Linked DNA regions of Homo sapiens: regions 2, 3, 4, 5 and 6 are each linked to region 1. The links are contacts of gene promoters, found by promoter capture Hi-C in blood cells and fetal thymus (Javierre and others, 2016). All regions are on one chromosome and are shown on one strand. Each heading gives the region's core, a stretch centred on a gene start or on the middle of the fragment in contact. The rest is flanking DNA. Distances are from core to core; before and after follow the strand shown. Region 1 holds the start of SEPTIN4-AS1 (SEPTIN4 antisense RNA 1). Region 2 holds the start of GDPD1 (glycerophosphodiester phosphodiesterase domain containing 1). Region 3 holds the start of MIR301A (microRNA 301a). Region 4 overlaps SKA2 (spindle and kinetochore associated complex subunit 2). Region 5 overlaps TRIM37 (tripartite motif containing 37). Region 6 overlaps TRIM37 (tripartite motif containing 37).

What was found. The method cuts DNA at HindIII sites, captures the fragments that hold promoters and counts their contacts. A CHiCAGO score of 5 or more calls a contact.
Region 2: a contact is called between a fragment that was not itself captured here and the fragment with the promoter of SEPTIN4-AS1 in region 1, in 3 of 17 cell types (naive CD4 T cells, megakaryocytes and fetal thymus). The highest score is 7.3, in naive CD4 T cells.
Region 3: a fragment that was not itself captured here is called in contact with the fragment with the promoter of SEPTIN4-AS1 in region 1 in 8 of 17 cell types (naive CD4 T cells, fetal thymus, non-activated CD4 T cells and 5 more); the score reaches 9.3 in naive CD4 T cells.
Region 4: a fragment that was not itself captured here is called in contact with the fragment with the promoter of SEPTIN4-AS1 in region 1 in 3 of 17 cell types (naive CD8 T cells, naive CD4 T cells and activated CD4 T cells); the score reaches 6.8 in naive CD8 T cells.
Region 5: a fragment that was not itself captured here is called in contact with the fragment with the promoter of SEPTIN4-AS1 in region 1 in 2 of 17 cell types (activated CD4 T cells and naive B cells); the score reaches 6.1 in activated CD4 T cells.
Region 6: a contact is called between a fragment that was not itself captured here and the fragment with the promoter of SEPTIN4-AS1 in region 1, in 6 of 17 cell types (naive CD4 T cells, M0 macrophages, total CD8 T cells and 3 more). The highest score is 5.8, in naive CD4 T cells.

The regions. Positions count from the first base shown.
Region 1 is chr17:58,517,923-58,522,830 of GRCh38, reverse strand. It overlaps SEPTIN4-AS1 (SEPTIN4 antisense RNA 1), which reads right to left and starts at 2,994. Exons shown (of 5, transcript NR_110810.1): 1 at 2,854-2,994. It overlaps SEPTIN4 (septin 4), which reads left to right. Exons shown (of 14, transcript NM_001368771.2): 8 at 730-864; 9 at 978-1,095; 10 at 1,185-1,286; 11 at 1,481-1,577; 12 at 1,671-1,833; 13 at 1,989-2,088; 14 at 2,346-2,575. The coding sequence ends at 2,405. It also overlaps a transcript of MTMR4 not described here. RefSeq lists enhancers at 4,243-4,342, 3,690-4,435. The HindIII fragment of the contact is 4,387 bases long and covers 2,067-4,908 here.
Region 2 is chr17:59,217,963-59,222,870 of GRCh38, reverse strand. It overlaps GDPD1 (glycerophosphodiester phosphodiesterase domain containing 1), which reads right to left and starts at 2,360. Exons shown (of 10, transcript NM_182569.4): 1 at 2,120-2,360. The coding sequence starts at 2,261. RefSeq lists an enhancer at 1,784-2,334. The HindIII fragment of the contact is 164 bases long and covers 2,559-2,722 here.
Region 3 is chr17:59,148,968-59,153,875 of GRCh38, reverse strand. All of the region lies in intron 1 of SKA2 (spindle and kinetochore associated complex subunit 2), which reads left to right. It overlaps MIR301A (microRNA 301a), which reads left to right and starts at 2,655; the gene lies at 2,655-2,740. RefSeq lists a silencer at 3,697-3,776. The HindIII fragment of the contact is 970 bases long and covers 1,643-2,612 here.
Region 4 is chr17:59,110,957-59,115,864 of GRCh38, reverse strand. It overlaps SKA2 (spindle and kinetochore associated complex subunit 2), which reads left to right. Exons shown (of 4, transcript NM_182620.4): 4 at 3,520-4,908. The coding sequence ends at 3,588. It overlaps LOC124904039 (a long non-coding RNA gene), which reads right to left. Exons shown (of 2, transcript XR_007065864.1): 2 at 1-1,911. Among named protein-coding and RNA genes, the nearest start is that of TRIM37, 6.5 kb to the right of the region's middle. The HindIII fragment of the contact is 1,611 bases long and covers 1,811-3,421 here.
Region 5 is chr17:59,092,124-59,097,031 of GRCh38, reverse strand. The region is part of intron 2 of TRIM37 (tripartite motif containing 37); the gene reads left to right. Among named protein-coding and RNA genes, the nearest start is that of TRIM37, 12 kb to the left of the region's middle. The HindIII fragment of the contact is 931 bases long and covers 2,608-3,538 here.
Region 6 is chr17:59,042,133-59,047,040 of GRCh38, reverse strand. All of the region lies in intron 16 of TRIM37 (tripartite motif containing 37), which reads left to right. Among named protein-coding and RNA genes, the nearest start is that of TRIM37, 62 kb to the left of the region's middle. The HindIII fragment of the contact is 861 bases long and covers 3,195-4,055 here.

The DNA of each region.
Region 1 (4,908 bases), core at 1,745-4,244:
TGAAGGATGGAGTGGGTTTGGAGAGGTAGAGGAAAGGGTAGAAACACATGAGCAAAGAGGCTCTGAGGTTACACTGGAAACCTGACTTAGGGTTTCCCTGGCTTCCAGTTGGTATTTGCCTGCAGCCACCTTGCTATTCTTTTTTTCTTCTTCTTCTTCTTTTTTTTTTTTTTTTTGTGACAGTCTGGCTCCATCACCCAGGCTGGAGTGGTATGATCTTGGCTCACTGCAACCTCTGCCTCCTGGGTTCAAGTGATTCTCCTGCCTCGGACTCCTGAGTAGCTGGGACTACTCAGGTGCACACCACCACGCCCAGCTAATTTTTGTATTTTTAGTGGAGACAGGGTTTCACCATGTTGGTCAGGGTGGTCTCAAACTCCTGACCTTAAGTGATCCACCCGCCTCGGCCTCCCAAAGTGTTGGGATTACAGGGGTAAGCCACCGTGCCCAGCCTATTCTTACTGCTTTGTTTGATCACCTGGGCCCTTTCCCTCTCATCAAGCTAGTATTTATTAAACTTGCCTGAGTACTCAGTCTAATTTTGTATCAGGACATGTGAGATACACCCCACCCCATTCAGGAATTTCTCTAAAGATTTAGTAAAGCAAGCCAGGGAATAACAGTGTCTTAAAAACACTGCTCAGGGAGTGGGCTACTTCTCTGTAGTCCCAGAGCTCACTAGGTGGCTCCCACTCTCACAGTTTCTCTGCTTGTCTGTCCCTGCCCCAGCTGGAAGCCTGTGGCAGAATACATTGATCAGCAGTTTGAGCAGTATTTCCGAGACGAGAGTGGCCTGAACCGAAAGAACATCCAAGACAACAGGGTGCACTGCTGCCTGTACTTCATCTCACCCTTCGGCCATGGGTATGGTCCAAGCCTGAGGCTCCTGGCACCACCGGGTGCTGTCAAGGGAACAGGCCAAGAGCACCAGGGGCAGGGCTGCCACTAGCAGGTGGTCACAGGTTCCTGTTCCCCAGGCTCCGGCCATTGGATGTTGAATTCATGAAGGCCCTGCATCAGCGGGTCAACATCGTGCCTATCCTGGCTAAGGCAGACACACTGACACCTCCCGAAGTGGACCACAAGAAACGCAAAGTGAGGGAAGCTGGTGGTGGGAGGGGATCAGGTGGGCTTCTAGAAAGGATGTGGTCCCCAGAACTGTGGGCCCCTCATCTGTTTGTCAGATCCGGGAGGAGATTGAGCATTTTGGAATCAAGATCTATCAATTCCCAGACTGTGACTCTGATGAGGATGAGGACTTCAAATTGCAGGACCAAGCCCTAAAGGTGGGGCCACTCTAGGGCATCCCATTCCTATCTTATTTCTTCCGGGTAGAAAAAGGGAGTAGAATTCTATATTCAGGCTATCAGGGTGGGAAAGGACCCTGGCTTCCTAGAATGAAGCAGAGAAGATGACGATACAGGTGGAAAGAAAGAGGTGAGAACAGAGGGTGCTGACAGGCACCCCTAACCTCTTCCAGGAAAGCATCCCATTTGCAGTAATTGGCAGCAACACTGTAGTAGAGGCCAGAGGGCGGCGAGTTCGGGGTCGACTCTACCCCTGGGGCATCGTGGAAGGTAAAGCACTGAGCCTGTGACCAGGGTATCTCCTTGCCCTCAGTGGCTCTCCCCTACCTATGCCTCTGGCTGACCCCTAGCCTTGCTATGCAGTGGAAAACCCAGGGCACTGCGACTTTGTGAAGCTGAGGACAATGCTGGTACGTACCCACATGCAGGACCTGAAGGATGTGACACGGGAGACACATTATGAGAACTACCGGGCACAGTGCATCCAGAGCATGACCCGCCTGGTGGTGAAGGAACGGAATCGCAAGTATGACCAGAAGCCAGGACAAAGCTGGCAGGGGGAGATCCCAAGCCTAGCCTTGGGTGAGACCAAGCCCTACTTTTGTTCTTCTATAGGCCCTGGGCTCAATCTAAGCGGGTGCTGGGGTCCTCCTCGCCTTATCAACCCTTTTCTCCCTTTAGCAAACTGACTCGGGAAAGTGGTACCGACTTCCCCATCCCTGCTGTCCCACCAGGGACAGATCCAGAAACTGAGAAGCTTATCCGAGAGAAAGATGAGGAGGTGAGAGCAGTATGGGGTATAGGGGAGGTCTCCTGTTTGATCACCAACGTTGGTATCTCTTTGTTTGGTAATAGAAAGATCCCTGGCTCTGGTGCATATTTGGGTCCTGGATAGGTCAATAGGTGGTTCTGTCCAGAGTCTCCATCACACCTCACGGCTACCAAGGTTCTGGCTTAAGGGATTAGAAATTTGGGGCACTTTCCCAATACTAAAGGACTCTCCAAAAGTCCCCATTTTGATGCCTGTGCCTATTCCAGCTGCGGCGGATGCAGGAGATGCTACACAAAATACAAAAACAGATGAAGGAGAACTATTAACTGGCTTTCAGCCCTGGATATTTAAATCTCCTCCTCTTCTTCCTGTCCATGCCGGCCCCTCCCAGCACCAGCTCTGCTCAGGCCCCTTCAGCTACTGCCACTTCGCCTTACATCCCTGCTGACTGCCCAGAGACTCAGAGGAAATAAAGTTTAATAAATCTGTAGGTGGCTTCTGGTGTCCCTGTGTGTATTTTTATGACCTGGAGATCAAGATCCTGGGACCCAGTTTTGAAAGGCTAATGGTAGAAGATGTTGGTTTCTGGCTTTTAGTAGGGAAGGGAGAGTGGGGAAAACTTTCCACTTCCTTTCCCCTTCTAAGTCCCTGCTTAGAATCCAGCCTGGCTTCTCCATCTTGACGATCATATCTATCATGCCTCTGTTATCTGGGGTCTGGGTCTCTCTCCATCTTTCACACATACAGTACCTTTGGTAATAAAAAGATTCCTACCTGTGGTGCATATTTGGGTCCTGGATAGGTCAACAGGTGGTTCTGTCCAGAGTCTCCCATCACACCTCAGGGCTACCAAGGTCCTGGCTTAAGGGATTAGAAATTTGGGGCACTTCTCCTGGCTAAGGAGAAAGTGAAACCCTGTCTCTACTAAAAATACAAAATAGCCGGGCGTGGTGGCGGGCGCCTGTAGTCCCAGCTACTCGGGAGGCTGAGGCAGGAGAATGGCTGAACCCGGGAGGCGGAGCTTGAAGTGAGCTGAGATGGCGCCACTGCACTCCAGCCTGGGTGACAGGGCGAGACTCCGTCTCAAAAAAAAAAAAGAAAAATAAAAAGAAAAAGAAATTTGGGGCACTTCCCCAATATTAAAGGACTGTCCAAAAGTCCCCCCTGCCCTTTTTTTTTTTGAGGCGGAGTCTCGCTCTGTCGCCCAGGCTGGAGTGCAACGGCGCTATCTCGGCTCACTGCAAGCTCCGTAGCTGGGACTACAAGACTCCGTAGCTGGGACTACAGGCGCCCGCCACCACGCCCGACTAATTTTTTGTATTTTTAGTAGAGACGGGGTTTCACCGTGTTAGCCAGGATGACCTCGATCTCCTGACCTTGAGATCCGCCCGCCTCGGCCCCCCAAGGTGCTGGGATTACAGGCATGAGCCACCGCGCCCGGCCCAAAAGGCCCCATTTTGATGCCTGTGCGTATTCCAGCTGCGGCGGACGCAGTTTTGTATTTGATACCTGCCCTTGGGAAAACACAAGGTATTAACTGCGTGCAACCTCCTGACTTTCTGTTTCCCCTGATCTGGGAAAAGGGATAGGCAGGTTAAGCTCTACACTGTAGAAAGCCTGTGATAGAGCTTTGAACAAATGCTGCAGCCATTGTAATCACCAAACACTATAGTAAGTGCTGGGAATGAATAAAAACACAATCACCGTCCTACAGGAGTTCAGTATTTAATTAAAAAATTTACAGCATCTGCTAGATTGCAGGCTGTTCTAGACCCTGGAGTTCAAGTAGTGCAAAGTTCCTGTCTTCCTGGAACTTACCAACAGTACTGGAGTTTCAACGTTCTATAAACAAAGATGGGTGAGGACATTAGCCCCGGGCTAATTAAAGCGCTCAGGCCCGCTCCAGACCTGAGAATATCAGCTGAATCTGAATCAACTGTTCTCCATTTCTGTCGGTTGGTGGTATCGCGGGGCCACGGCGACCTCCAGCGGCCACCCTCCGTCTTGTGGTCTGTTCTGGGTCCCCGGGAAGGAAAGGGAGGGGCGATAAGCCGGGTCCTTGGGAGCGTCCTGGTCTCCCTTCGCTTTACAGACTAGGAGGCCGCAGCTAGCTGGCAGTCTCAGATCCAGGTTTCCCATCTCTGGGATGAGAGGAGAGTTCTTCACTCAGGACTGCCAGCGCAATGCAGGTCGTGAAGAACTGCAGGGTCGTTTATCGATACAAAGTGAGTGTTGGAGGAACCCATCAAGACACAGGAAGGGGGAAATCCTAGCGCCGCCAGTCGGAGATGACCAAGACTGAACCTCAGGCCCAGCCCTCCCTTCTCTCTTAGCCTGCAGGTTTTTCTCCTATTCTGGCGTTGGGACCGGATGACAGCTGCGAAACCAAAACGGGAATGGATAAACTGAGGTGCCACTGGGGACCTGTTTCAGAAGTACCTCCTGGGCGGGGCCATCACCGGAAGTGGCTTTAGGCATGTAACCTACAATGCCCGCCTCTAATTGCGCTACCAGTAGGCGACGAGCCGCCTCCACTTCCGGTCCCCAGAGCAGTGGCCAGCAGCCCCCTCTTTACTGCTCTCCTATTGGCTGCCGCAAGGACGCGCTGTGATTTCCCATTGGTCGCGTCTCCCCTCCGGCGCCGCGCCTCCTTCCTCCAGGTATAGTCTCGTCTTTAGGCATCCGATTGGCTAAAGGCTGGGAGGGCGTTTGCCCGACTCGACCAATGAGTGGGGTCGAGAGTGAGGGCGGTGGCTGCGTGATGGGGGCAGGGCGGGACTTGGCGTGGCCATTGGCCAGGGCGGGTACAGGCTAGAGATATGATTGGTT
Region 2 (4,908 bases), core at 1,391-3,890, 700 kb before region 1:
AGTAATGTGTACTGCCTATCCCCAGAATAGGACTACTATCATTGAAAATTGCCTCTGGCAGGGTGCAGTGTCTCACGCCTGTAATCCCAACACTTTGGGAGGCTAAGGCGGGTGGATCACCTGAGGTCAGGAGTTTGAGATCAGCCTGGCCAACATGGTGAAACCTCGTCTCCACTAAAAATACAAAAATTAGCTGTGCGTGGTGGCGGGAGCCTGTAATCCCAGCTACTCGGGAGGCTGAGGCAGGAGAATCGCTTGAACACAGGAGGCAGAGGCTGCAGTGAGCCAAGATGGCACCACTACACTGTAGCCCGGGCGACAAGAGGGAAACTCTGTCTCAAAAAAAAAAAAAAAAAAAAAAAAAAGGCTGGGCACTGTGGCTCACGCCTGTAATTCCAGCACTTTGGGAGGCCGAGATGGGCGGATCACGAGGTCAGGAAATCGAGACCATCCTGGCTCAGACAGTGAAACCCCGTCTCTACTAAAAATAAAAAAAATTAACTGGGTGTGGTGGCGGGCGCCTGTAGTCCCAGCTACTCGGGAGGCTGAGGCAGGAGAATGGCGTGAACCCGGGAGGAGGAGCTTGCAGTGAGCCGAGATCGCGCCACTGCACTTCAGCCTGGGTGACAGACCGAGACTCCATCTCAAAACAAACAAACAAAAAAACAAACAAACAAAAACACAAAAAGAAAAAAGAAAATTGCTTCTGTGACAGCAACTTGAATACTAAAAGTCGGTCCCTGGTTCCAATGGTTGAAGGCACCTTAGTAGTTAAATGTCATCCTACAGTTTAACCAGGTAGCTATTAAAACAGATAACCCAAATAAACAATAACAAGGCATTTGGCTGACCACCCTTTAAAACCTCTGAGGCTTTTCATGAGTGGGAAGGCTAGAATACTATTGAAGTCACTCATTAGAACTATGCTTAACTAATAAAATTATATAGAAGAATGATAATGTACTTCCGTATTTATATTTCAAAACCTTTTTCCTTGGCCAATACTTGTTAGTAAAGTGATTATGGTACTACACCAAGTTTTAGACTGTAAACTCCTAGAAATTATCATTTCAAGTGTGTATTAAATTTCAAGCAAATTTTAAACCGGTTTAAGATTCAGCCTTAAAGAACAGTTAAAATTGATTGAAAATAATCCAATTTCACCGCACTTTATACATCATAGTTGAAATGCAATGAAGACACATTATTACACAATAATGAAGAAGCAAAGATTTGGCCTGTTATCTGGGAAATTAGAGGGTGGACTACCTGGGCTCCTTTTAGCAAAACACTTTTCCAAAAGAAACTTATTTTTGTTTTCTTTAAACAATACTGTCCTGTCCTAAACGAAATCATTTTTAGTCTGTTGAAAATCCACGTGTCTTTGCGTGTTTATTTATTTATTTATTTATTTATTTATTTATTGCAGTGTTCAAAAAAAAAAAAAAAAAGATGCAAGGTTTCCAGCCCTGAGGACCAGGACGCTGTAGCTCCTGTCTCAGTTCAGCCCTAGCTCTAATTGTGACCTTGGGAAATGTCCCTGGCTCGGGGGACTCGGTTTCCCTCTCTTCTCAATTATGAGTGCTCGGAACGTGGGGGTGGGACGGGCCCCCAGCACCGCAGACAAGGGGTTACAGCTCGTCCAGCTTCATGCAAATCCCCAGCCCTCCTCGTCGCCTCGGCTCTTCCCATCCACTCAGCCACTAGCTCGCTCGGAGCAGTGTGCTCCCGGTGCCCCCCGCGGGGTACCCTCGGTTCTGCACGGCGCTCCCCCTTTGTGTCTTGCTGCTAGGAAGGGACCTTGCGATCATCCTTCCATCCGCCGAGAAACGCTCCACCTACCCTTCATTCTCGACCGTGTCTTTCCCGTTTCAGAGAACCCCTCACACTGCTGCCCTCGAGAGACCCCCGCCGTGGCTCTGACCGGGAATCCCTCTCCTTCCCTCCCCTCAGGAGACCTTCCCTTCACACAGCCTTCACCTCCGGAAGAGCCCTCAATTCACACAACCCCATTCTTCCTCAAACTCTCAGGGATTGGCACCCGGCTGCCTTTTGCGGAGCCGCAAAGGACCCTCAGCCTCCCCCACCTCCGTCATCGGGTTCTGGGGACCCCTCTCACCTCCGCGGTGAGAGATGTGTTTACTGAGGAATCGCTGCTTCTTTCTCTGGTGCAGCAAGGTCGGGTATTTAAGCAACAAGAATGAGGTCACCAAGTATCCTCCTAGCGTAGAGAGAAGGTAAAAAGCCGCAGTGGACGACATCTCAGTCACCGTGTGGGAAGTCTCCCACCTCCGGGCCCTCTGAACTCCGCTGCGGCAGTAGCAACGACGGCGGCGGCGGCGGCTGCTCGAGGTCGGCTCGCCCCCAGCCGGTGCCACTGGTGCAGCGCACTTGTCGGTGCCGGCCTACTGCGCACGCGCAGCTGGACCCCAGCGCCCCAGCAACAAAGAGGCTCCGACGCGCAGGCGCTCTCCGGCTCCCGTGTAGGAACCTGCAGAGATCCTGGACTGAGCGTTTGTCACCTAGCTCTGTGGACGGACCCTCATGAAGAGAAAGCTTGCAAACCTGCCAGTGTGTTGGCCATCACTCAAGCAGAAAAGACTATTCACGGGCAGCCTTTCCTAATTGGAAAATCCACATCAAAAAGGAAAGATTCCAGGGCGCGTCTTATCCCTTGCTCTAGAAAATGCAAATAATTTGTACCTATGGAGGCGATAAAGCTTGCTAAAACACTAAATAAACTCCTCCGTTTATCTAGCCTAGAGAGAATTTCCCCTATGGTCGCATATACTAGAAAAGGTACTGGTTTATCAGTCAAATATCTGAGAGATCGGCCCCTGTCCTCCCTCATTTCATTGTGAAAGTGCAATCCTCATTCTTTGTACACAATAGGCACTGTAGAAGTATTTGTTGACTTACAAGTCCGTATAAAATAAGGAAACTTTGTTAAGGTTATAAGGTATTACCTAAAAGTCCTAGAAAGACAGATAACTAAGTTCCAGAAGGCCCTACTAGTTTTCCTTTTACCCGACAAATTACAAACTGCTAACACACGAAAAGCCACACACTTCAATGCAAAAGAAATAAATCACCCAGGACTGAGGGAGAAATTTTACGGAGAAGACCATATCTCCCACAGGACTAGAAAAGCAGAGTGAATATTTAAAATCCTGATTCAGCCGGGCGCGGTGGCCCACGCCTGTAATCCCAGCACTTAGGGAGGCCGGGAAGGAAGGGTGGATCGCTTGAGCCCGGGAGTTCGAGACCAGCCTGGGCAACATGGCGAAACCCCATCTCTACAAAAAATAAAACAAAATAAGCCCGGCGTGGTGGCGTGCACCTGTAGTCACGCTACTTGGGAGGCTGAAGTGGGAGTATTGCTTGAGCCTGGAAAATCGAGGCTGCAGTGAGCTATGACTGCACCACTGCACCCCAGCCTGGGCGACAGAGCAAGACCCTATCTCAACTATAAAAAGAAAATTAGAAGAAAATAGGGGGTGGCTGGGCACGGTGGCTCAAGCCTGTAATCCCAGCACTTTGGGAGGCTGAGGCGGGCAGATCATTTGAAGTCAGGAGCCTGGCCAACATGGCGAAATTCCATCTCTACTAAAAATACAAAAATTTGCCAGGGGTGGTGGCGTGTGCCTGTGATCCCAGCTACTCAGGAGGCCGAGGCAGGAGAATCTCTTGGACCCGGGAGGCAGAGGTTGCAATGAGCCGAGAAGGCGCCACTGCACTCCAGCCTGGGTGACAGAGCGAGACTCCGTCTCAAAAAAAAAAAAAAAAAAAAAAAAAAAAAAAAAAAAAAAAATTCCTTTAGTCGAGGTTGAAGTGAGCCTTGATGGTGCCACTGCACTCCAGCCTGGGCAACAGAGCAACATTCTGAGGAAACTTACAGGTTAAAAAATCATGTGTTCTGTTTAGGGCTGTTAAACTATTTCCTGTAGATCAACTGACGCACATAGTTCTATTTTTCAAAATATCACCTGATGACTATGGAAGCGTCTAGAATAAACCACTGTGGCATAAAAATTATTTTGAGGCTGGGCATGGTGGCTCACGCCTGTAATCCCAGCACTTTGGGAGGCTGAGACAGGCAGATCACCTGAGGTCGGGAGTTCGAGACTAGCCTGGCCATCATGGTGAAACCCCGTATCTACTAAAAATACAAAAATAAGCCAGGCATAGTGGTGCATGCCTGTAGTCCCAGCTACTAGGGAGGCTGAGGCAGGAGAATGGCTTGAACCTGGGAGGCGGAGCTTGCAGTGAGCCAAGATCATGCCACGGCACCCCAGCCTGGGCGACAGAGCAAGACTCTGTCTCTTAAAAAATATATATATATTGAGCTGAAGGCATTTAAGTTCCTGGAATCCCTTATCAACCTAAAATCAAAGGCTCCCAGAAGAACTTAACTGTCATAAATCTCCTCCCTGGGAACAATTCTAATCCTGTCAGAGATGAGAGACATTGTCACAAAAGTATGACATCTCATGGGTATTCTCCTAAGGACACATTTATGTTTCCAAAAAATCATTTCTTTTTCCAAAAAGTGCTTTCTCCCCAGCTTCTAAGAAGTCATTTGTTCTTCTGGAAGTACCCCCTACCCCTTCCCACCCGTAAATTTTAGATTATATATAAACCTCAAATTCTAACCGCTTTTTTTTTTTTTTTAGACAGAGTCTCACTCTGTGGTCCAGGCTGGAGTTCAGCAGTGCCATCTCGGCTCACTGCATCCTCTGCCTCCCCGGGGGTTCAAGTGATTCTCCTGCCTCAGCCTCCTGAGTAGCTGGGGCTACAGATGCGCACCACCGCGCCTGGCTAATATTGTGTGTGTGTATATTTTTCTTTTCTTTTCTTTTCTTTTTGAAAAGGAGTTTCGCTCTTGTTGTCTAGGCTGGAGTGCAATGG
Region 3 (4,908 bases), core at 878-3,377, 630 kb before region 1:
CGCTTCAACCTGGGAGACGGAGGTTGCAGTGAGCCGAGATCGCGTCACTGTACTCCGGCCTTGCGACAGAGACAACGTCTCAAAAAAAAAAAAGATTAAGTTTTAAAAAAGTAAAAGACTTCTTTCTTCGTTTGTAATCCGTCCCTCCTTCCCACGCCATTCCCTGGCATTACTGCTTAGGTATCCTTTGTGCCTGCCCTGCTTTCTTCAAGCTGAATCTTGGGTCTCTAACTTCTTCCTTGGAAAGGATGGGTGGTGATCCTGGAAGAAACCTCACCCACCCCCCATTCCCACCCCAGAAAAAGTGAGGCCTTGATATATCTTATTTTCTTCTGTTGTGCTAATGAATTGGAGTGCCTCTCATATACAAATTTAATTTGAAGGCTTTCAATTACTTTTAGCATTTTGTGTTTAAATTTTCTTTGTGCAGTGTGTGTGGGGTTGGAGAAGTGTAGGGAGAAATGGGAGGGAAGAAGGAAGAATTTCCTGCAGATTTTCAAACCTGTAATAATGAACTTTTAGTTTTAAGTTTTATTATCATTTAAAAAAAACAAAATGTTAAGCATTGTAATTTGATTCTGTCAACAGGCTTAAATGTTAAGACTATCTTGCCCTTCTCCCATTCTGAATTCCTCCCTACTGATATAGATATTTCTGCTTAAATTCATAATTCATTTCTGCTAAATGATGCTAATTCTGCTTTTAACAGGTTGTTTGCTTCTCAAATTGGCTGTTTCTAATTTTTAAACTTCGTCTGGCTTTTACAGTAGAGTCAGTATTCTCACAGGACTTCTTTAGATTGAACAAATTCTCTTTTAAGTGAACAATGATGAAGTAAACATTTTGAAAAAGTAGGTTTTAGAAAATTATAAGGTAGCCAGACATTTAAACTTTTAGGTATTGTTTGAATGATGGGGTAGTATTTAAATTCTTTTTGAAGACAGGAAAAAAAGAAATGAGGTTTTTTTCCTTTCTTACATCCTTGCAAGTAAATTAGTGGTAGCTTTTTTTTTTTTCCTTTCAGGTTATTAGTTTGTTTCCATAATTATTAGGGTTTAGAAATGAATTTTTATCATGGCTCTAATTATTACTGCTTTGTGTTGACTAGATAATAAAAGACAGTGCATCTCATCTTCAGATTTACCATGTGCTTCTAGAAAAAAATGTTATACTTGTGGACCAGTTTATTTTATAAGATTTTAAGAGTAAATGATTCCTGTGCTATCTTCTGATTTTTGGTTTTACATCAGTTAAATAAAGGATTTGTCAAGGTAAAAGGAAATGCATAATATTTAATTTGAAAAGAAAGTGTTTATCCTAATTTTGTTAATACCTTAAATTTTTTAAATATTTTTCTTGTTTGTAATAACTTCCAATTCAGAAAGTTAAACACTTATCTTTTAAACAGTTGTCTTTAAAACCTGAAACTTGGCTACCAGCGTTAAATATTCTAATATTTTAGTTATGTGGCCCAGGATTTGACACCAAGACACTTATATTTCAGCTGTCCTTTGTATGAGCCCATTTCCTTAGTAGGCTCAATCCGACTAAGTAGTTGAATTGGACCGTTTAAAGGGAGGTTGGTGAAAATAATGAAAATATATTTTTGCATCAATCAACATTACTAATGGGGGAATAAGCTTATTGTAGGGCAATCTTTGTTCTCTGACTTTTTCCCCTTCACTTAATGATGGGGTGGTATTTGTTTAGCTTTGTTCTTTCGTGGTACTACTAGTGACTGTACACAAAAGGTAATGCAGTGTGATACTATGATACTATTTCTGTTTCTGGGTTTACATCTGACTTCTGATTGGGTTCTTATCCGTTAAAAAAGTTAAAATGTCAATTAGCTTGGAACTAAGGAAACTTGTTACTTAAATCTCAGTCCCACCTCCCCCCATCATTATTTTCTCTTTGACATTTCTAAGTTTGAAGGAAATGGAGATGCTTTCTGCCTCTATTTAAGATTTCAGGAGTTAACTGAAATTTTAAAATCCCCTTGGATAGTATTCAGTTAGATAGGGTTAATGTTCTGTTTAGAGCACATTGATTCCCTTCTGTTGTTATGACAGCCCTTAGTAAACTCAAGATAAAAAGCTGTAAGATGGTAAGTGCTTTTGTGTTTTCTTTGTTTAGTGGTTTAGATTCCAGAGTGATAGATTGAGTATGTAGAGATTGAGAAACTTATTATTTTACTTTTCATTTGTTTTCTTTGATACTTTTATTCAAAGGGCTTGTTTTACATGGCGTTTAATCAGTAAATTGCCTTGAAGAAGGAGCTAACCAACATCTCTGCAGAGAACAAAAATATTTTTCACAACTTTGCCTTAGTAGTAATTATAACTGGTTTTGTTAATACCAATCCTAAAGTATTAACAATACCCATTCTAATTACTATTAAGGCTTAGGGCATATTTACAAAATTCCTTTCTACATCTATGCATGTTTCTGTTCGAATGTTAATTTGTATATTAGTCATCAATAAGCAACATCACTTTGATATTTAAGTCTTATCCTTTTTTAAAAAAACATTGATATAAATGTTTTTTGGTTTTGGATGTTTTTCTGTCCAAAATGGCAACCCTACTTTAAATTCGTTTCTCACTGAAGCTTCAACCGATGCAAGATGCTTTTGTGTTCCTTTCCTACTTATTACTGCTAACGAATGCTCTGACTTTATTGCACTACTGTACTTTACAGCTAGCAGTGCAATAGTATTGTCAAAGCATCTGAAAGCAGGATGCACGCCAGAATTTTGATTCTTACCTTACATCTTTCTTCGGTATCAGTAAATAATTTACCACAACCTTTGTTGCTGAGAACTATAATGTTGTTACTAACAGTATATCTTTTAGAAAGTCATAATTTGAAAAAAAAAAACCTTTTAACTAATTAAAAACAATATTTTACTGCATTATGAAACACGTCTGGAGAATATTTTTTATATCTAAGTTGTTATGGTTTGTCTAAATGAGTAATACTTTATAATTTGTTGCTTTCTGTTACATATTTGGATAGGTTCTGTCAAACTTTAGGTTTTATTTGAGTTTTATGATGAATTGGTAGTGATGGAAACAATTTCTGCTGTATATTTTTCCTGCAGTTACTTGCCCCAAGTCATTTTTTTTTCTCCAGAGACAGAGTCTTTCTCTGTTGCCCAGGCTGGAGTGCAGTGGCCCAGTTACACCTCACTGCAGCCTTGTACTCCCGGGCTTAGATAATCCTCCCTCCTCAGCCTCCTAAGTAGCTGGGACCACAGGCGTGTCCTACCATGCCTGGCTAATATTTTCTTGAAATTTTTTGTGGAGACAGGGTCTCACTGTGTTGCCGAGGTTGGTCTTGAACTCCTGGGCTCAAACAGTCCTCTTGCCTTGGCCTCCCAGAGTGCTGGGATTATAGGTGTGAGCCACTGTGCCTAGTCCTCCAAATCTTAATTGGTGTTAATTTTGTGTATTGTCTAGGAAATGGTTGAATTTAAAACCTAAGAGTGTTTGTTTTACAGTTTATTCTTATGAGATACAATAGTGTGGATTCATCACTTTTAAAAAATATGAATTTTATTGAGATACAATTATATAAAATAAAAGTAAGTAAGCTATTTGTTAAGCAAAGCCGAAGTCTTGCTGTGTTGCCCAGCTGGAGGGCAGCGACTATTCACAGAGGCAATCATAATGCAGCACAGCCTAGAACTCCTGGCTTCAAGCAATCCTCCCACTTCAGCCTCCTGAGTAGCTTGGACTACAGGGGTGTGGCATGCCCAGTGAACTGACGAGTTTTGACAAATGTATACAGTCATGTAACCACCACCACAGCCAGGATATAGAACATTTCTGTTACTTTACAAAAAGCTCCTTTGTGGCCAGGCATGGTGGTGCACCTGTAGACCTAGCTACTCGGGTGGCTGAGGTGGGAAGATCACTCGAGCCCAGTAGTTCCAGACCAGGCTGAGCAACAGAGTGAGACCCCTACATTCCTTTGTGCCTCTTTGTGGTCAACCTCTTCTTCCCCAAGTCCCTGGCAACCACTGATCTCTAGTTTAACTTTTCCTAGAATTTCATATAAATGGAATCATACATTATACAGTCTTTTGTGTCTGGCTTCTTGCACTTAGCATAATGCTTTGAGATTCATCCATGTTGTATATTAGCAGTTGGACAGTTTTTATTGCTGAGTAGTATTCATTGTATAGAATATCACAAACTCTTTATCCACCAACTTATAGACATCGGGTCATTTCCACGTTTTGCATATTATGAATAAAATGGCTGTGGTTGGTCTCGAATTCTTGAGCTCAAGTGATCCTCCTGTGTTGCCCTCCCAAATGTCTTTGTTTAATTTTTTTTTTAGCAATATTTTTTTCTTTTTCTTTAGAGACAGGGTCTCATACTGTCACCCAGGCTGGAGTGCGGTGGTGTGATCATAGCTTACTGTACCATCAAACTCCTAGGCTCAAGCAATCCCACCTCAGCTTGCTGAGTAGCTGGAACTACAGGTGTGCATCACCATACCTGGCTAGTTGAAAAATTTTTTTGTAGAGATGAAGTCTCACTATGTTGCCAGGCTGGTTCTCTAACTCCTGGGCTCAAATGATCTTCCCACTTCAGTCTCCCAAAGTGCTGGGGTTCTGGGAGTGAGTCGCCATGAGTATGTCTTTGTGTGGACGTAATGTTTTCATTTCTTTTGAGTAAATACTGAAATGGGATTTCTGGTAGCCTGATAAATGTATCCTTGGGGGAAAAAAAGTATGCTTGATCTTATAAGCAACTGCTAAAATATTTTTCAAAGTGGCTGTACTATTTTGCATTCCCAAAGCTATTGATAAGGGTTCTAGTTTTTCCATAACCTTATCAACACTTGGTATTAGGTTGATGCAAAAATATCAGTTTTAATTTTAACCCTTCTAACAGT
Region 4 (4,908 bases), core at 1,367-3,866, 590 kb before region 1:
TAACTTGACTTTAATTCCTGGAAAAATTCTTTGAGAATTTATTAAACAGATGGTCTGAAAGCTTTTGTAGTGATCACAAGGGGCAATGTGGATTCATTAGTCTCATAGCTGGGTATGGCAGTGTGCACCTGTAGTCGCAGCTACTTGGGAGGCTGAGGTGGGACGATTGCTCGAGCCCAGGAGTTAGAGGTTGCAGTGAGCTATGACCGCACCACTGCGCTCCAGCCTGGGCGATGGAACGAGACTCTGTCTCTAAAACAAAAACAAAACGAAAAAGCAAAGTCTTGTCAGAATAACATTTCCTTTTTTTGAGGTAGAAGAAGGAAATCCTGTAACTGGGTTGTAGTAAGACGTATGATTGTTTTTCAGTTTATCCTTGTGAACATGTTGGGCAAATGTTGATCAGTGGAACCAGCTGCATATCAGAATCATATAGGTTCTGTGGCTGTTCTAGATTTGGGCTGTCCTATTTACATAACGTAATGTGGCTATATAAATTTAAATTTAGACTGGGCATGGTGGCTCACGCCTGTAATCCCAGCACTTTGGGAGGCCGAGACAGGTGGATCACCTGAGGTCAGTAGTTCCAGACCAGCCTGGCCAACACGGTGAAACCCCCGTCTCTACTAAAGAAATACAAAAAATTAGCCAGGCATGGTGGCGGGCACCTGTAATCCCAGCTACTCGGGAGGCTGAGGCAGGAGAATCTCCTGAACCTGGGAGGCGGAGGTTGCAGTGAGCTGAGATTGCGCTCCAGCCTGGGCAACAAGAGTGTAACTCCATTTCAAAATTAAAAAAAAAAAAAAAAAGGAAGAAAGAACGAAAAAAAGAAGAAAAGAAATTTACATTTAAGGTAGTTAAATGAAAGATGAACATTAACTTCTTCACCTACTGATTGGACAGTGCTGATAAAGAATATTTCCAGCATCATGGAAAGTTTTATTGGACAGTGCTGCCCTAGAGATTCTGATTCTGTAGGTCTGGGGTGTTCCAGATTTGGCAGTCTCTCTAGAGATGACCTATATAGTTGGCAGAATTGTAACTACTTGATTCTTCAGGTTGTACCTCCTATTAATTCCCCACATAACCCTTTGTTTCAGCCAGCCTGTTTGTTGGTGCTCTGTGAAAGTCCCTTACAACTTCCCTTCAGCCTCCCTTCTTTTGCTGCTACCTGCTTTTGGTGGATGCTATTGGCCATTTTTCTTTCTCAGTATCTGTTATCCTTTCCTGCCTACCAGAATATAGACATGCAGTGCATAATGACGTTTTGGTCAACAATGGACCAAATATATATGACAGTGGTCCCAGAAGATTATAATAGCGTATTTTTACTGTACTCTTATGTTCAGATGTTTAGATATAAAAATACCATGTGTTACCACTGCCTACGGTATTCAGTACAGTAACATGCTGTACAGATTTGTAGCCCAGGAGCAGTAGGCTATACCATATAGCCTGAGTGTATATATACAATCCCTGTTTGTGTAAGTACAGTCTGTGATGTTCACACGATGAAACTGCCTAACGATGCATTTCTCAGAACGTATTCCTGTCATTAAGTGACACATGACTATACTGACTTTCTTGAGATGTGTGTTGTCCCTCATAGCGATGTGCCTGAGATGAATCTGGCCCCATCCTCAGCTCCAGGGGTGCATCTGATTGGCATAGGGAATGGACTTTATTTTTTAACTAACAGTGGTTGAGGAATGGGTTTGTAACCCAAATGACATGTGAGTAAGGATAGTCTGGAAGTAGGTTACTAGGAAGACTTTACTCACTGCTGAGAGAACCCTGAGAAGAGAAAGCTTCTTTTCTTCTTCTGGACATTGTGTAGAGTTGTGATACCTAGCACCGTTAAAGCCATTTGCTGTCAGCTTGAGGGTAAAGGCACTATCCAGGATATTAGAGCTGTGAGATGGAAAAAATGGAGTCCTTACATTGTTCAGTTGCTAAATAAGTCAGCCCAGAAGTCTTTCCTTTTTCTGAAGTTATTGTGGAATGATAATACATTTTCCTTTATCTTTTTTTTTTTTTTGAGACAGAGTTTCACTCTTGTCGCCCAGGCTGGAGTGCAATGGCGTAATCTTGGCTCACTGTAACCTCCACCTCCCGGGTTCAAGCAATTCTCCTGCCTCAACCTCCCGAGTAGCTAGGATTACAGGTGCCTGCCACCATGCCCAGCTAATTTTTTTGTATTTTTAGTAGAGATGAGGTTCCACCATGTTGGTCAGGCTGGTCTCAAACTCCTGACCTCAGGTGATCCACCCACCTCAGCCTCCTAAAGTGCTGGGATTACAGGCATGAGCCACTGTGCCCGGCCTCTTTCTTTTTTTGTGTGATTTAGTCTTGCTCTGTCACCCAGGCTGGATGGAGTTCAGTGGTGCGATCTTGGGTCACTGCAGCCTCCGCCTCCCAGGTTCGAGGGATTCTCCCAACTCAGCCTCCTGAGTAGCTGGGATTACAGGTGCATACCACCATGCCTGGCTAATTTTTGTGTTTTTTAGTAGAGATGGGGTTTCACCATGTTGGTCAGGCTGGTCTCAAACTCCTGACCTCAAGTGATCCACCCGCCTCAGCCTCCCGAAGCGCTGGGATTAGAAGGCATGAGCCACCGCGTCCGGCCTCTTTTTTCTTTTCTTAAGATGAGGTCTTGCTCTGCTGCCCAGGCTAGAGTGCAGTAGCACCATCAGGGCTGACTGCAGTCTCGACCTCCCAGGCTCAAGTGATCCTCCCACCACAGCCTCCCGAGCAGCTGGGACCACAGGTGTGCGCCACCATGCCCAGCTAAAAATTAGTGTACTAATTAGTTAAAAATTAGCTACTCGGGAGGCTGAGGTGGGAGGATTGCTTGAGATGGGAGGTTGAGGCTGCAGGGAGCCATGATTGTGCCACTGCACTCCAGCCTGGGCGACAGAGTGACCCCGTTTCAAAAATAGAAAACAAAAATTTTGGAAAAAAATTAGATGGTTGTATCTGTACTGAACATCTGTAGACTTTTTTCCTTATCATTTATTCCTTCCACAATACAGTGTAACAATTATGTACATAGCATTTACATTGTATTAGGTATATAAGTAATCTAGAGATGATTTAAAGTATACAGGAGGATATGTATAGTTTCTATGCAAATACTACGCAGTTTTATATAAGGGACTTGAGCATCTGTGGATTTTGTTATCCTGGAATCAATCTCCCACAGATACTGAGGGTTGACTGTACTTTTAGAATATGGCATCCAAACATGACTTCTTTGGTTCTGCTATAATCCTTAAATTGTTTGATTTCTTGGTCTTGTTTCTTCAACTTAATTGCAAGTTCTTTAGAAGCTCAAACATCATAGGACCTTGTATATAAATAGCCAAGTATCTGTTTTTTCCCTTGCCTTTCTAAATCTGTGATTACATACATAGTATAAGCTTAGGGAAACATTTATTGGTGTGACAATGCAGAAGTTAACTAAACTGATTTAAGTCTTTGAAAGTTTTTGAAATAAAGATTTTATCATTTATTTTCTAGCTGTCACCACTGACTAAAGAAGAGAAAACTGCGGCAGAGCAATTCAAATTTCACATGCCAGATTTATGAAGAAATGGACTTGGAAAGGAAATTCTAACAGAGAAGAGCTTAATTCCGGAGAAATTTAGGAAGATGTCTTGTTAACCCTTGATGTCTAGAGATTGGGGGCTGGTGAAGGGGGTTTGGCTTCAATGACTGGATAATGATATCTTTCATGAGAGAGATTATAAGAAGAAGGGCAGATAATATATGAATAAAGTTCAGCCAAAAGGATCAAATGAGAATAAAACGATTTAAATATATGTACACACGCATGCACACACACACTTAGTCTTGTAATTTCAGGCCAGAAATTCTCAACACTATTTTGCATCTGTTTTCTTTTTCTAAGTCATGATAATATAGATGTTCTGGTCTATCATAAAAGAATGTTTATGTACATTTCAGTCATTCGGTATGTGGCTTTGTAAATTAAAGTATAGGCAAAACATTTGTGTTATACATGATATATAATTTCATTTTGTAAATGTTGATTGCACATGTGGTCACATTATTGTTGAGACTGCTTTTATGTGACCTGTAGTCTCCCACAGAACCTAAAGTAATAAGCTGGCTTTTCTGTGATAGCCACGTTTGCGTATTTCTTTCCCTATTTCCCTTGCCTGCTAATGTTGAACAGCATGAACTTGCTTTCTGATGCTGTTTTAGACTGTCCCTGTTGTATCTCAATAATATCTTTGTTTTCCTTCAGCCTTTATTACTATAATTGTTCATTCTACATGAAAGCTAGGAAACTGAAATTAGAAGAGCACTTATCTGCTACTTGCCAGTTTTGCGTGAGTGTGTTATATGTATGTGTCAATTTCCCTTTAAAATAACTATTTATTTTAAAATAACTATTGGCAATAAGGAAACTGTTCAAAGTAGAGGCAGATCTTGATAGAAAGATGTTAATCACAGGGTTGTTTATAATAGCAATATACATACACATTTGGCTAGTACTAGGTGAATAGGAAAATAAATCATGCTGTATGTATACAATAAGAGGTCAAGTTGCCAATAAATTATTACTGTTAATGTTCTGGGAAATGCTGAAACTATGCTAAGTGGGGGAGAGGGAAAGCAGGTATTGCAGTTTTGTAGTGAAGATTGGGCTTTGGAGTCATATCTGAGATGTAAGTAGCAGCTTTTAAATTCTAGCTATGACCCTGTGCAGATCACTTAACTTTTGAGTGTCAGGATGTTTGGAAGGACAAGACAGGAAAGTGTTTTAATACAGGGTTCAGTATTTAGTAAGCCTTCAATAAGTGATATTACATACATGTAATAAAAACTAAGCATTGAAAGGACTAGGAAAAATGCATCAAATGTTAGTTCTGCAGGTTATAG
Region 5 (4,908 bases), core at 1,824-4,323, 570 kb before region 1:
AGATGATCATAGTGGGGGTTTTCCATGAAGTGGTTTATTACATTGAATGATTTTTGTAGTTGAATCATCTTTCTATTCTAGGAATAAATCCCACTTGGCCACAGTGTATAATTTTTTAAATAGTCTGTTGAATTAGTTTTATTGGGATTTTGTTGAGGATTTCCCTAGCACAATTTCTCTAGTAAATATCTTAAACTCCCAGACCACATATACATTAAAATTTTTCATATAGCATTATGAATGAGGATGCACAGTACATGTCAATAATGATATCTCTGATTATATTCTGAAGAAATGGAAGGAATTTAATAAATACTTATATTTTTAATTAATTTCAAATGCAGGATTAGGCATTGGAAATAGTATTTAATCAATCATGAGCCCATGATCTAAGATTTTTAATAATTGCTGTAATTAATGTTTCTTAAAGACCTTGTTTTCTGTTACAAAGTTGGTTTTTTTTTTTTTGTTTTTTTTTTTTTGAGACAGAGTCTCACTGTCACCCAGGCTGTAGTGCAGTGGCACGATCTTGGCTCATTGCAACCTCTGCCTCCTGGGTTCAAGCGATTCTCCTGCCTCAGCCTCCCGAGTAGCTGGGATTACAGGCACCCACCACCATGCCTGGCTAATTTTTATATTTTTAGTAGAGGCGGGGTTTCACCATGTTGGCCAGGCTGGTCTCGAACTCCTGACTCCAGGTGATCCACCCACCTCGGCCTCCCAAAGTATTGAGATTACAGGCGTGAGCCACTGTGCCCGGCTGATGTTTTTTTTTTAAACTCTCTTTTTTTGGTCTCCTGTTACACTAACAGTAATTTTATTTACCATCTGGCTTATTTAGTTCTGTATGCTAGATAATTAATATATACAATCTTTATGATAATTACTCATTCTTACAGGTTTTTGGAAATGAACAAAAGGACAGCTTTTCCCTTTCTTTGGTAGACATACCATAAGAAGTGGACTTTTGTTATAGTTTAGTGGTATAGATGTTTGTAAGAAACTATTTTAGTCTGGGCACAGTGGCTCATGCCTGTAGTCCCAGCACGTTGGGAGGCCCAAAGATGGAGGATTGTTTGAGCCCAGGACTTCAAGACCAGGCTGAGCAACATGGCAAGATCCCATCTCTGCAAAAAAAATTAAAAAATTAGCTGGATGTGGTGGGCACACCTGTAGCCTCAGCTACTTCAGAGGGTCAGGTGGGAGGACCTCTTGAGATGAAGAGGTTGAGGCTGCAGTGAGCTGTGTTTGGGCCACTGCTCTCCTGCCTGAGTGACAGAGTGAGACTTGTCTCAAAAACAAAAACAACCCCAGAAAGTATTTAGCATGTTTTTGTATGTATATATAGTTTGCCTCAAACAGTACATTAGGGGATGTAAGAAATTTTGTATGCTTTCACAAGGCATCTAAGATCCTCTATGATCGGCCTCCTAGTTTCCTTGCAATTTTGAGCTGTTTGGGAATAAAAGTCCTTTGTTAACAAATTTCCTATTTACTGCCTGTTTTCTCTTATAGCTAAAAGTATTTAAAAGAGTGTTTTCCACTCCATTTCCCTGCAACCTTGCCATCTACTTACCCTTCAACCCATTCTAACTTGGCTTTAGCTCCCTCCACACTACTCACATAGCTCCTGCAAAGTGTAGACTCAGTTTTGCTAAATCCAATGAACCTTTTGTTGGCCTTATCTTTCCTTCTCGGAGCATTCAGCATAAATTACTTCATCTGTTTTTCTTGAAACGTTATCTTTGGTATCTTTGCCATAATAGCTATACCATCTTCCTAGTAACTTCATGGTCTATGGATTTTTTTTTTTTAAGAGACCGAGTCTTGCTCTGTCATCCAGGCTAGAGACAGTGGCATGATCATGGCTCACTGCAGCCCTGACCTCTGGACTCAGTTGATCCTCCCACCTCAGCCTCCTGAGGAGTAGCTGGGACTACAGGCGTGTCCACCATGCCCGGCTAATTTTTAAATTTATTGTAGAGATGGTATCTTGCTATGTGACCCAGGCTGATCTGGAGCTCCTGGCCTTAAGCAATCCTCCCACCTTGGCCTGCCAAAGTGCTGGGATTAAAGGTGTGAGCCACCACACCCGACTGGTCCATGACTTTTAACACTACCTCTAGACTTAAACTTCCCAACTTTATCTTTTCAGTCCTGGCCTTTTCTCTGCCTCCAGTATCTAACTACCTTCATTTGGACTTGTAGTATGCATCTGAAATATATCGTCTCTATAAGAGGTTTTTTTTTGTTTTGTTTTTGTTTTTGTTTTTGTTTTTCACCATGCCAAATCTGTTTCTTTTCCAGTCAGGAACCCAGTTTTTTATCCAAAAACCTAGCTCACCTTAATCTTCCTTTTTCCTCACATCCAGTAGTAATTGAACTATAAATGTTAGCAGCCAGTTTGTTTTTTTTTTAAGATTATCTTAGATACTTAGTATATATTGCTAACAGCTTCTCTCTAACCCTTAGAGCGGTTTTGCAGGGTAGATATGTTGATTCTCTTGTTGCATATGAGGAGACGAGCTCAGTCACTTGTCCAATGTCATGTGGTCCATAAGTGCCAGAGCTGGGAATCAGACACAGATCTGAATACTTTCTAAAGCTTGTGATTCTTCCAGTTTAATGAAGGAGAGAAAATAATTTTTAATTTTAATTTTATTTTATGTTTATGATTTTTTAATTGAATGAGGGGGAATGCTCTAAAGATATTTGTTTAATATTATGCATTAATATTGTACCACTGGTTCTTTGGTTTTGGTTTGAGAGAAACATTGCTTTTCTCAAAGTATTAACATTGTCATATTTATTTTGTAATTAAATTAGATTGTGGAGGCTGAGCAATTTCATGCCTGTATGCCTGTAATCCCAGCACTTTGGGAGGCCCAGGCGGGCAGATCACTTGAGGTCAGAGTTGGAGACTAGCCTGGCCAACGTGGGAAAACCCCATCTCTAATAAAAATACGAAAACCATCTGGGTGTGGCGTCGCATGCCTGTAATCCCAGCTGCTTGAGAGGCTGAGGCATGAGAATTGCTTGAACCCGGGAGGCAGAGGTTGCAGTGAGTTGAGATTGCACCACTGCACTCAAGCCTGGGGGAGGGAGTGAGACTCTGTCTCAAAAAATAAATAAATAAATTAGATTGTGGAATACAAGATAAAAATACCACAAATATTCAGAGAATGTAAAACTCACTATAGCCTGGGAAAGGCAGGAAATTTTATGGACATGATCCAGTGACATTTCTATGAGACGGGATATGGAGGGAGGGACCATATAAGCAAATGCACAGATATATCGACAGTGTTATATAGTGCAGCAGTAAGCCTGTTTTGACTGGGAGGGAGGGAGACATTTAAAATACGATCTGGTTACTCCCTATCATAGTCCCAGTCTTTATAAGTTTTATAGTCTAGCAGGGCAAAGGAGACCAACAAATAAGTCGTCGTAATAAAGTATCTGAAGGGGGAAGTGTAGGTTGCTGTGGTAGAGCATGGCAATTGTATCTAAAATAGTCTGCAGAGTGTCAGGGAAAGCTTTTTGGAGAAAGCAACTTATGAACTGAAATCTAAACAATGAGTAGGAGTAACCCAGATGAAGAAAGGTTTTGAAGAATATCTTAGGCAGAGAGAGGAAACATGTAAAGACATTACCTTGCTGGGTTATAGGGCCAGTTCTGGAGAGGAGTTCATGAGACCAGTTCTGGAGAGGAGCTGTGACTTTAACAGAAGAGTGGCATGGTCATGCCATTGTTTCAGGGGAAGAAACCTGACCCAAATTTCGTTTTTGCCTAGGGACCAAGGTAATAATAATGTTCAAGGTTATTAAGAATGGAGGAATCCTTTTCCATAGGCTTTTTATTTTATTTTTATTTTATTTTTTGAGACAGAATCATGCTCTGTTACACAGGCTGTAGTGCCGTGGCGCTGTCTCGGCTCCCTGCAGCCTCCACCTCCTGGGTTCAAGCAGTTCTCCTGCCTCAGCCTCCTGAGTAGCTGGGACTACATGCTCATGCCACCACACCTGGCTCAATTTGTATTTTTAGTAGAGACGGGATTTCACTATGTTGGCCAGGCTGGTCTCGAACTCCTGACCTCGTGATCCACCCGCCTCAGCCTCCCAAAGTGCTGGGATTACAGGCGTGCTCTGTATGCTTTTTCTTTCAGCTTTATTTTCTTTGCTCTGAAGTACCTTGCTTGCTATCATTTTAAGTCTTTTACTGTCCTTTAAGGTTTCCTTGGGAATTTTATTTCTAAGTTAATTATTTGGCATCAAGTTAAAGCTCATGTTCATTTTAAAAAGTAGAAAGAGATAAACAAATAACAGATATTGGGAGTACGTTGGTGTAGGATCATAGTTATTTACCTCTGAACCTATTTATCAGACAATTAAAACATAAAGTTTTTTTTATTATAAACCTGTTGTTTCCTGAAAACTAGTCAGAAAATCTTAACATCTCCTTTATATGTGGTATAACATTGCTCTCAGTTTCCTAATAAATTATTAATATAATTTTTGGTTTAGTAGAGACATTATTCTCTTCTAAAACCTTTTTATAATTATGAGGAAACCAAGATATCTAGAAGCTTCAATTACTGAACTATGAAACCGTTTTTTTTGTTTTTTTTTTTTTGAGACAGAGTCTTGCTCTGTTGCCCAGGCTAGAGTGCAGTGGCAGGATCTCGGCTCACTGCAACCTCTGCCTCCTTGGTTCAAGCAATTCTCCTGCCTCAGCCTCCCGAGTAGCTGGGATTATGGGCGCCTGCCACCATCACCATGCCTGGCTAATTTTTGTGTTTTTAGTAGAGACGGGGTTTCACCATGTTGGCCAGGCTGGTCTCCATCAGCTGACCTCAGGTGATCTGCCCACCTTGGCCTCCCAAATTGCTGGGATTACAGGCGTGAGAC
Region 6 (4,908 bases), core at 2,376-4,875, 520 kb before region 1:
CTAGAACTACAGGCGCCCGCCACCTCGCCCAGCTAATTTTTTGTATTTTTAGTAGAGACGGGGTTTCACCGTGTTAGCCAGGTTGGTCTTGATCTCCTGACCTCATGATCCGTCCACCTCGGCCTCCCAAAGTGTTGGGATTACAGGCGTGAGCCACCGCACCTGGCCAATCTGGGTTACTTTTTTAAAAATTTGTTTTTCGGCTGGGCACGGTGGCTCACGCCTGTAATCCCAGCACTCTGGGAGGCTGAGGCGGGTGGATCACGAGGTCAGGAGATCCAGACCATCCTGGCTAACACGGTGAAACCCCGTCTCTACTAAAAATACAAAAAAGAAATTAGCCAGGTGTGGTGGCAGGCGCCTGTAGTCCCAGCTACTTGGTAGGCTGAGGCAGGAGAATGGGGTGAACCCGGGAGGCGGAGCTTGCAGTGAGCTAAGATCACGCCACGGCACTCCAGCCTGGGCGACAGTTGAGACTCTGTCTCAAAAAAAAAAAAAAACTGTTTTTCATGACTAATACTTTCTGAGAAATACAGAATAGTTTATTTTGTAGAAAGTCCCTCAGTTTGGATTAGTCTGAAGTTTCCTCATGATTAGATAGAGGTTACACACTTTTGGCAGGGATACTACGGAAATGATAATGTATCCTTTTCACTGCGTCATACAGAGTGGAGCATGATGTCAGTATGTCCCATTACTTGTGGTTAATTTTGATCACTTAGTTGAGGTAGCATCCGCCAGGTTTCTTCACTCCAAAATTTGTACTTTTTCCTTTATAATTAATAAGTATCTTATGTATGGGACTGTAAATATCCTATTTTTCATCCTACTTTTTCCTATGAATTTTGACACCCTTTGATGAGTGTTGCCTGAAAAAGGTTACTGTGTTGATTGCCAAGTGGTGTTTTTCTAATTCCATTATTTCTTACTCATTCATTAGTTGCAATTTAAGGAAGAGCTTTTCCTTCTGCCCTGTTAATTGATGAACTAATGAATTTCATTAATGTGGATAATTTTTTTTTTTTGAGATGGAGTCTTGCTCTGTCACCCAGGCTGGCATGCAGTGTCACGATCTTGGCTCACTGCAACCTCCATCTCCTGGGTTCAAGTGATCCTTCCACCTCAGCCTCCCGAGTAGCAAGGATTACAGGCGTGCACCACCACGCCTGGCTATTTTTTTGTATTTTTAGTGGAGACGGGGTTTCACCATGTTGGCCAGGCTGGTCTTGAACTCCTGACTTCAGGTGATCTGCCCACTTCAGCCTCCCAAAGTGCTAGGATTACAGGTGTGAGCCACTGTGCCTGGCGATTTTTGGATTTTTAAACCAAGCTTGCATTCCTGGGACACATCCCACTTGGTCATAGTGTGTAATTTTTTTTCTTTTTTCTTTTTTTTTTTTTTGTGACGGAGTTTCGCACTGTCACCCGGGCTTAAGTGCAGTGGCATGATCTCGGCTCACTGCAACCTCCGCCTCCCGGGTTCAGGCGATTCTCCTGCCTCAGCCTCCCAAGTAGCTGGGATTACAGGCACCCACCACCACACCCAGCTAATTTTTTGTATTTTTAGTAGAGACGAGGTTTCACTGCGTTGGCCAGGCTGGTCTCAAACACCTGACCTCGTGATCCACCCGTCTTGGCCTCCCAAAGTGCTGGAATTACAGGTGTGATCCACTTCGCCCAGCCGTAATTTTTTTTTTCTTTTTTTTTTATTTGAAACGGAGTCTCGCTCTGTCCCCCAGGCTGGAGTGCAGTGGCGCAATATCCGCTCACTGCAAGCTCCGCCTTCTGGATTCACACCATTCTCCTGCCTCAGTCTCCCAAGTAGCTGGGACTACAGGTGCCCACCACCTTGCCCGGCTAATTTTGTTTTGTATTTTTAATAGAGATGGGGTTTCACCGTGTTAGCCAGGATGATCTCAATCTCCTGACCTTGTGATCTGCCTGCCTCGGCCTCCCAAAGTGCTGGGATTACAGGCATGAGCCACGGCACCCAGCAATTTTTTTTTTTTCCTAAGAGAATCTGGCTTTGTGGCCAGGCTGGAGTATGGTGGCATGATTATAGCTCCCTGTAACCTTCAACTCTGGCCTCAAGTGATCCACCTGCCTCAGCCTCCATAGTAGCTAGGACTACTGGTGTGCATCATCACACTCGGCTCATGATTCTTTTTATATGTTACTGCATTCTGTTTGCTAGTACAGTTGTCCCTCAGTATCCTTGCGGTATTGGTTCTAGGACCCCGCCCTTGGATACTAAAATCTGAGGATGCTCAAGTATCTTATATAAAATGGCAGAGTAGTTGCATATAACCTATGCACATCCTCCCCTATACTTTTAAATCATCTCTAGATTACTTATAATACCTAATACAATGCAAATGCTATGTAAGTAGTTGTTATACTCTATTGTATACAGAATAATGACAAGGGGAAAATGTCTGCGCATGACTTTATTTTGTTTTGTTTTATTTATTTTTTTTTGAGACGGAGTTTCGCTCTTGTCGCCCAGGCTGGAGTGCAGTGGCACAATCTCAGCTCACTGCAGCCTCCGTCTCCTGGGTTCAAGCAGTTCCCCTGCCTCAGCCTCCTGAGTAGCTGGGATTATACACGCCTGCCACTACGCCCGACTAATTTTTTGTAGTTTTAGTAGAGACAGGGTTTTGCAATGTTGACCAGGCTGGTTTTGAACTCCTGGCCTCAGGTGAGCCACAGCACCCGGCCGGCTTTATTTTTTGAGACGGGGTCTTGCCCTGTCACCCAAGCTGGAGTGCAGTGGTCGCGTGATCACAGCTCACTGCAACCTCGACCTCCTGGGCTCAAGTGATCCTCCCACCTCAGTTTTCCAAGTAGCTAGGACTACAGGTGCATGCCAACACACCTGGCTAATTTTTTAATATTTTGTAGAGACAGGGTCTCACTATGTTGCCTTACTATGTTCTAGGCTGGCCCGGAGCTCCTAGGCTCAAGAAGTCCCTCCAGCCTCGGCTTCCCAAAGTGCTGGGATTACAGGCATGAACCACCACACCAGGGCTTAAAAAATATTTTTGATCCACAGTTGGTTGAATGCACAGATGCAGAGCCCACAGATAAAGAAGGCCAACTATATTTCGTTGATGCTCTTAATAGTGTTGTATGTTTCTCTGAGTGTTGTATGTGTCTCTGCTTCTCCCCATAGGCAAAATCTCTGAGCCAAAGCTTTGAAGTTGGAGTAAGGATAAAGGTGTACCTCTCTTACTTTAGAAGCTGAGCTAACTGGATGTTGGGGACAGTAGCCTTAGTTCTTTCCTTTTCAGGCTTGGGACCTCCACCTTATGAATAAGCTGGGGCAGGGATGATCTGGGCCCCAGTATTCTCATCATGCTGCATCCAGGTAGAGCATCTAGTCCACAAGTGGGTCTCAGCAGAAGGGAGTCTCCACCTCTTGGCCGTGTGTGCCTGTACTATAGCATCAGCAATAGGTAGCTGGGGGCAGAATGAGAGATGCTGATACCTTGCCACTCCCAGGAATATAGCCCTCCTCTTGGAAGTTCGGGAAGTGGGAGGCCTGTGTTCTTCACTGCACCAGTCTGGAGTGGAATTTCTGTAACACCAAGTTAGGAAGTGGAGTGATCTTGGTTCAAATACTGCAGATGCCCACTTGTCTTACCCAGTTTTTATAGATTTTTTTGAGTAGATGTTTCTTCATTTGCTGTATGCCCTTGGGACCATTTCCAGAGTCGTTAAGTGGTTGTTTTTAAAATAATTGTCACCAGTTTGACTAAAGAGCAGACCTACAGAGCTCCTTACATTGTCAAGCTGGGTGCTTATCTTGAGATTTCCTTAAATACCCAAGACTGTCATTGACTGGTACTGTTTCAAGTAGTATGTTGTTTAAAATAAAGTAATAGTGATTGTTTTTTAACATGAGAGACTTTGTATGGCCGAGTAGGAAGTAATACCCTCTTTGCTGAAATATTATTTTTGAAAAATGGTATTTAGTCATATACAGTAATTTGGGCTTTTTTTGGATGTTAAAATGTAGTGTTTTAAGCCTAACACTACATGTAGTGTTTTAAGCTTATTGCCATTAAGCTACCAGTTCTCTGAAGCTGTAATTTCTTCTAACAGTGGTTCTTGTATTTATTAGTGTTTCTAACACTAATTAAATAGGAGAGATTAATCTCTTCTAATAGTGGTTCTTAGATTTTTTAGTGTTTCATTTATTTCTATTTTTTTGCCTGACACAGTTCTTTTTTTTTAATCTTCCTTTCCTTTCCTTTCCTGTCCTGTCCTGTCCTCCTTGAGACAGAGTCTCGCTCTGTCGTCCAGGCTGAAGTGCAGTAGTGCAATCTTGGCTCACTACAACCTCCACCTCCCGGGTTCAACCGATTCTGCTGCCTCAGCCTCCCGAGGAGCTGGGATTACAGGTCCCCACCACAACGCCCAGCTAATTTTTGTATTTTTAGGAGAGACAGGGTTTTGCCATGTTGGCCAGGCTGGTCTCGAAATCCTGACCTCAGGTGATCCTCCCACCTTAGCCTCCCAAAGTTCTGGGATTTCAGGCGTGAGTCACTGCGCCCGGCCTTGAGATATATATATATATATATATATATATTTTTTTTTTTTTTTTTTTAAATTCCTTTTTTTCTTAGCTTTCTAAGAAGAACTGGCTGATTTTTTTTTTTTTTTTGAGATGGAGTCTCGCTCTGTCGCCCAGGCTGGAGTGCAGTTGTGCAATCTTGGCTCACTGCAAGCTTGCCTCCTGGGTTCACGCCATTCTCCTGATTCAGCCTCCTGAGTAGCTGGGACTACAGGTGCCTGCCACCACACCCAGCTAATTTTTTGTATTTTTAGTAGAGACAGGGTTTCACCGTGTTAGCCAGGATGGTCTCGATCTCCTGACCTCGTGATCCGCCTGCCTCAGCCTCCCAA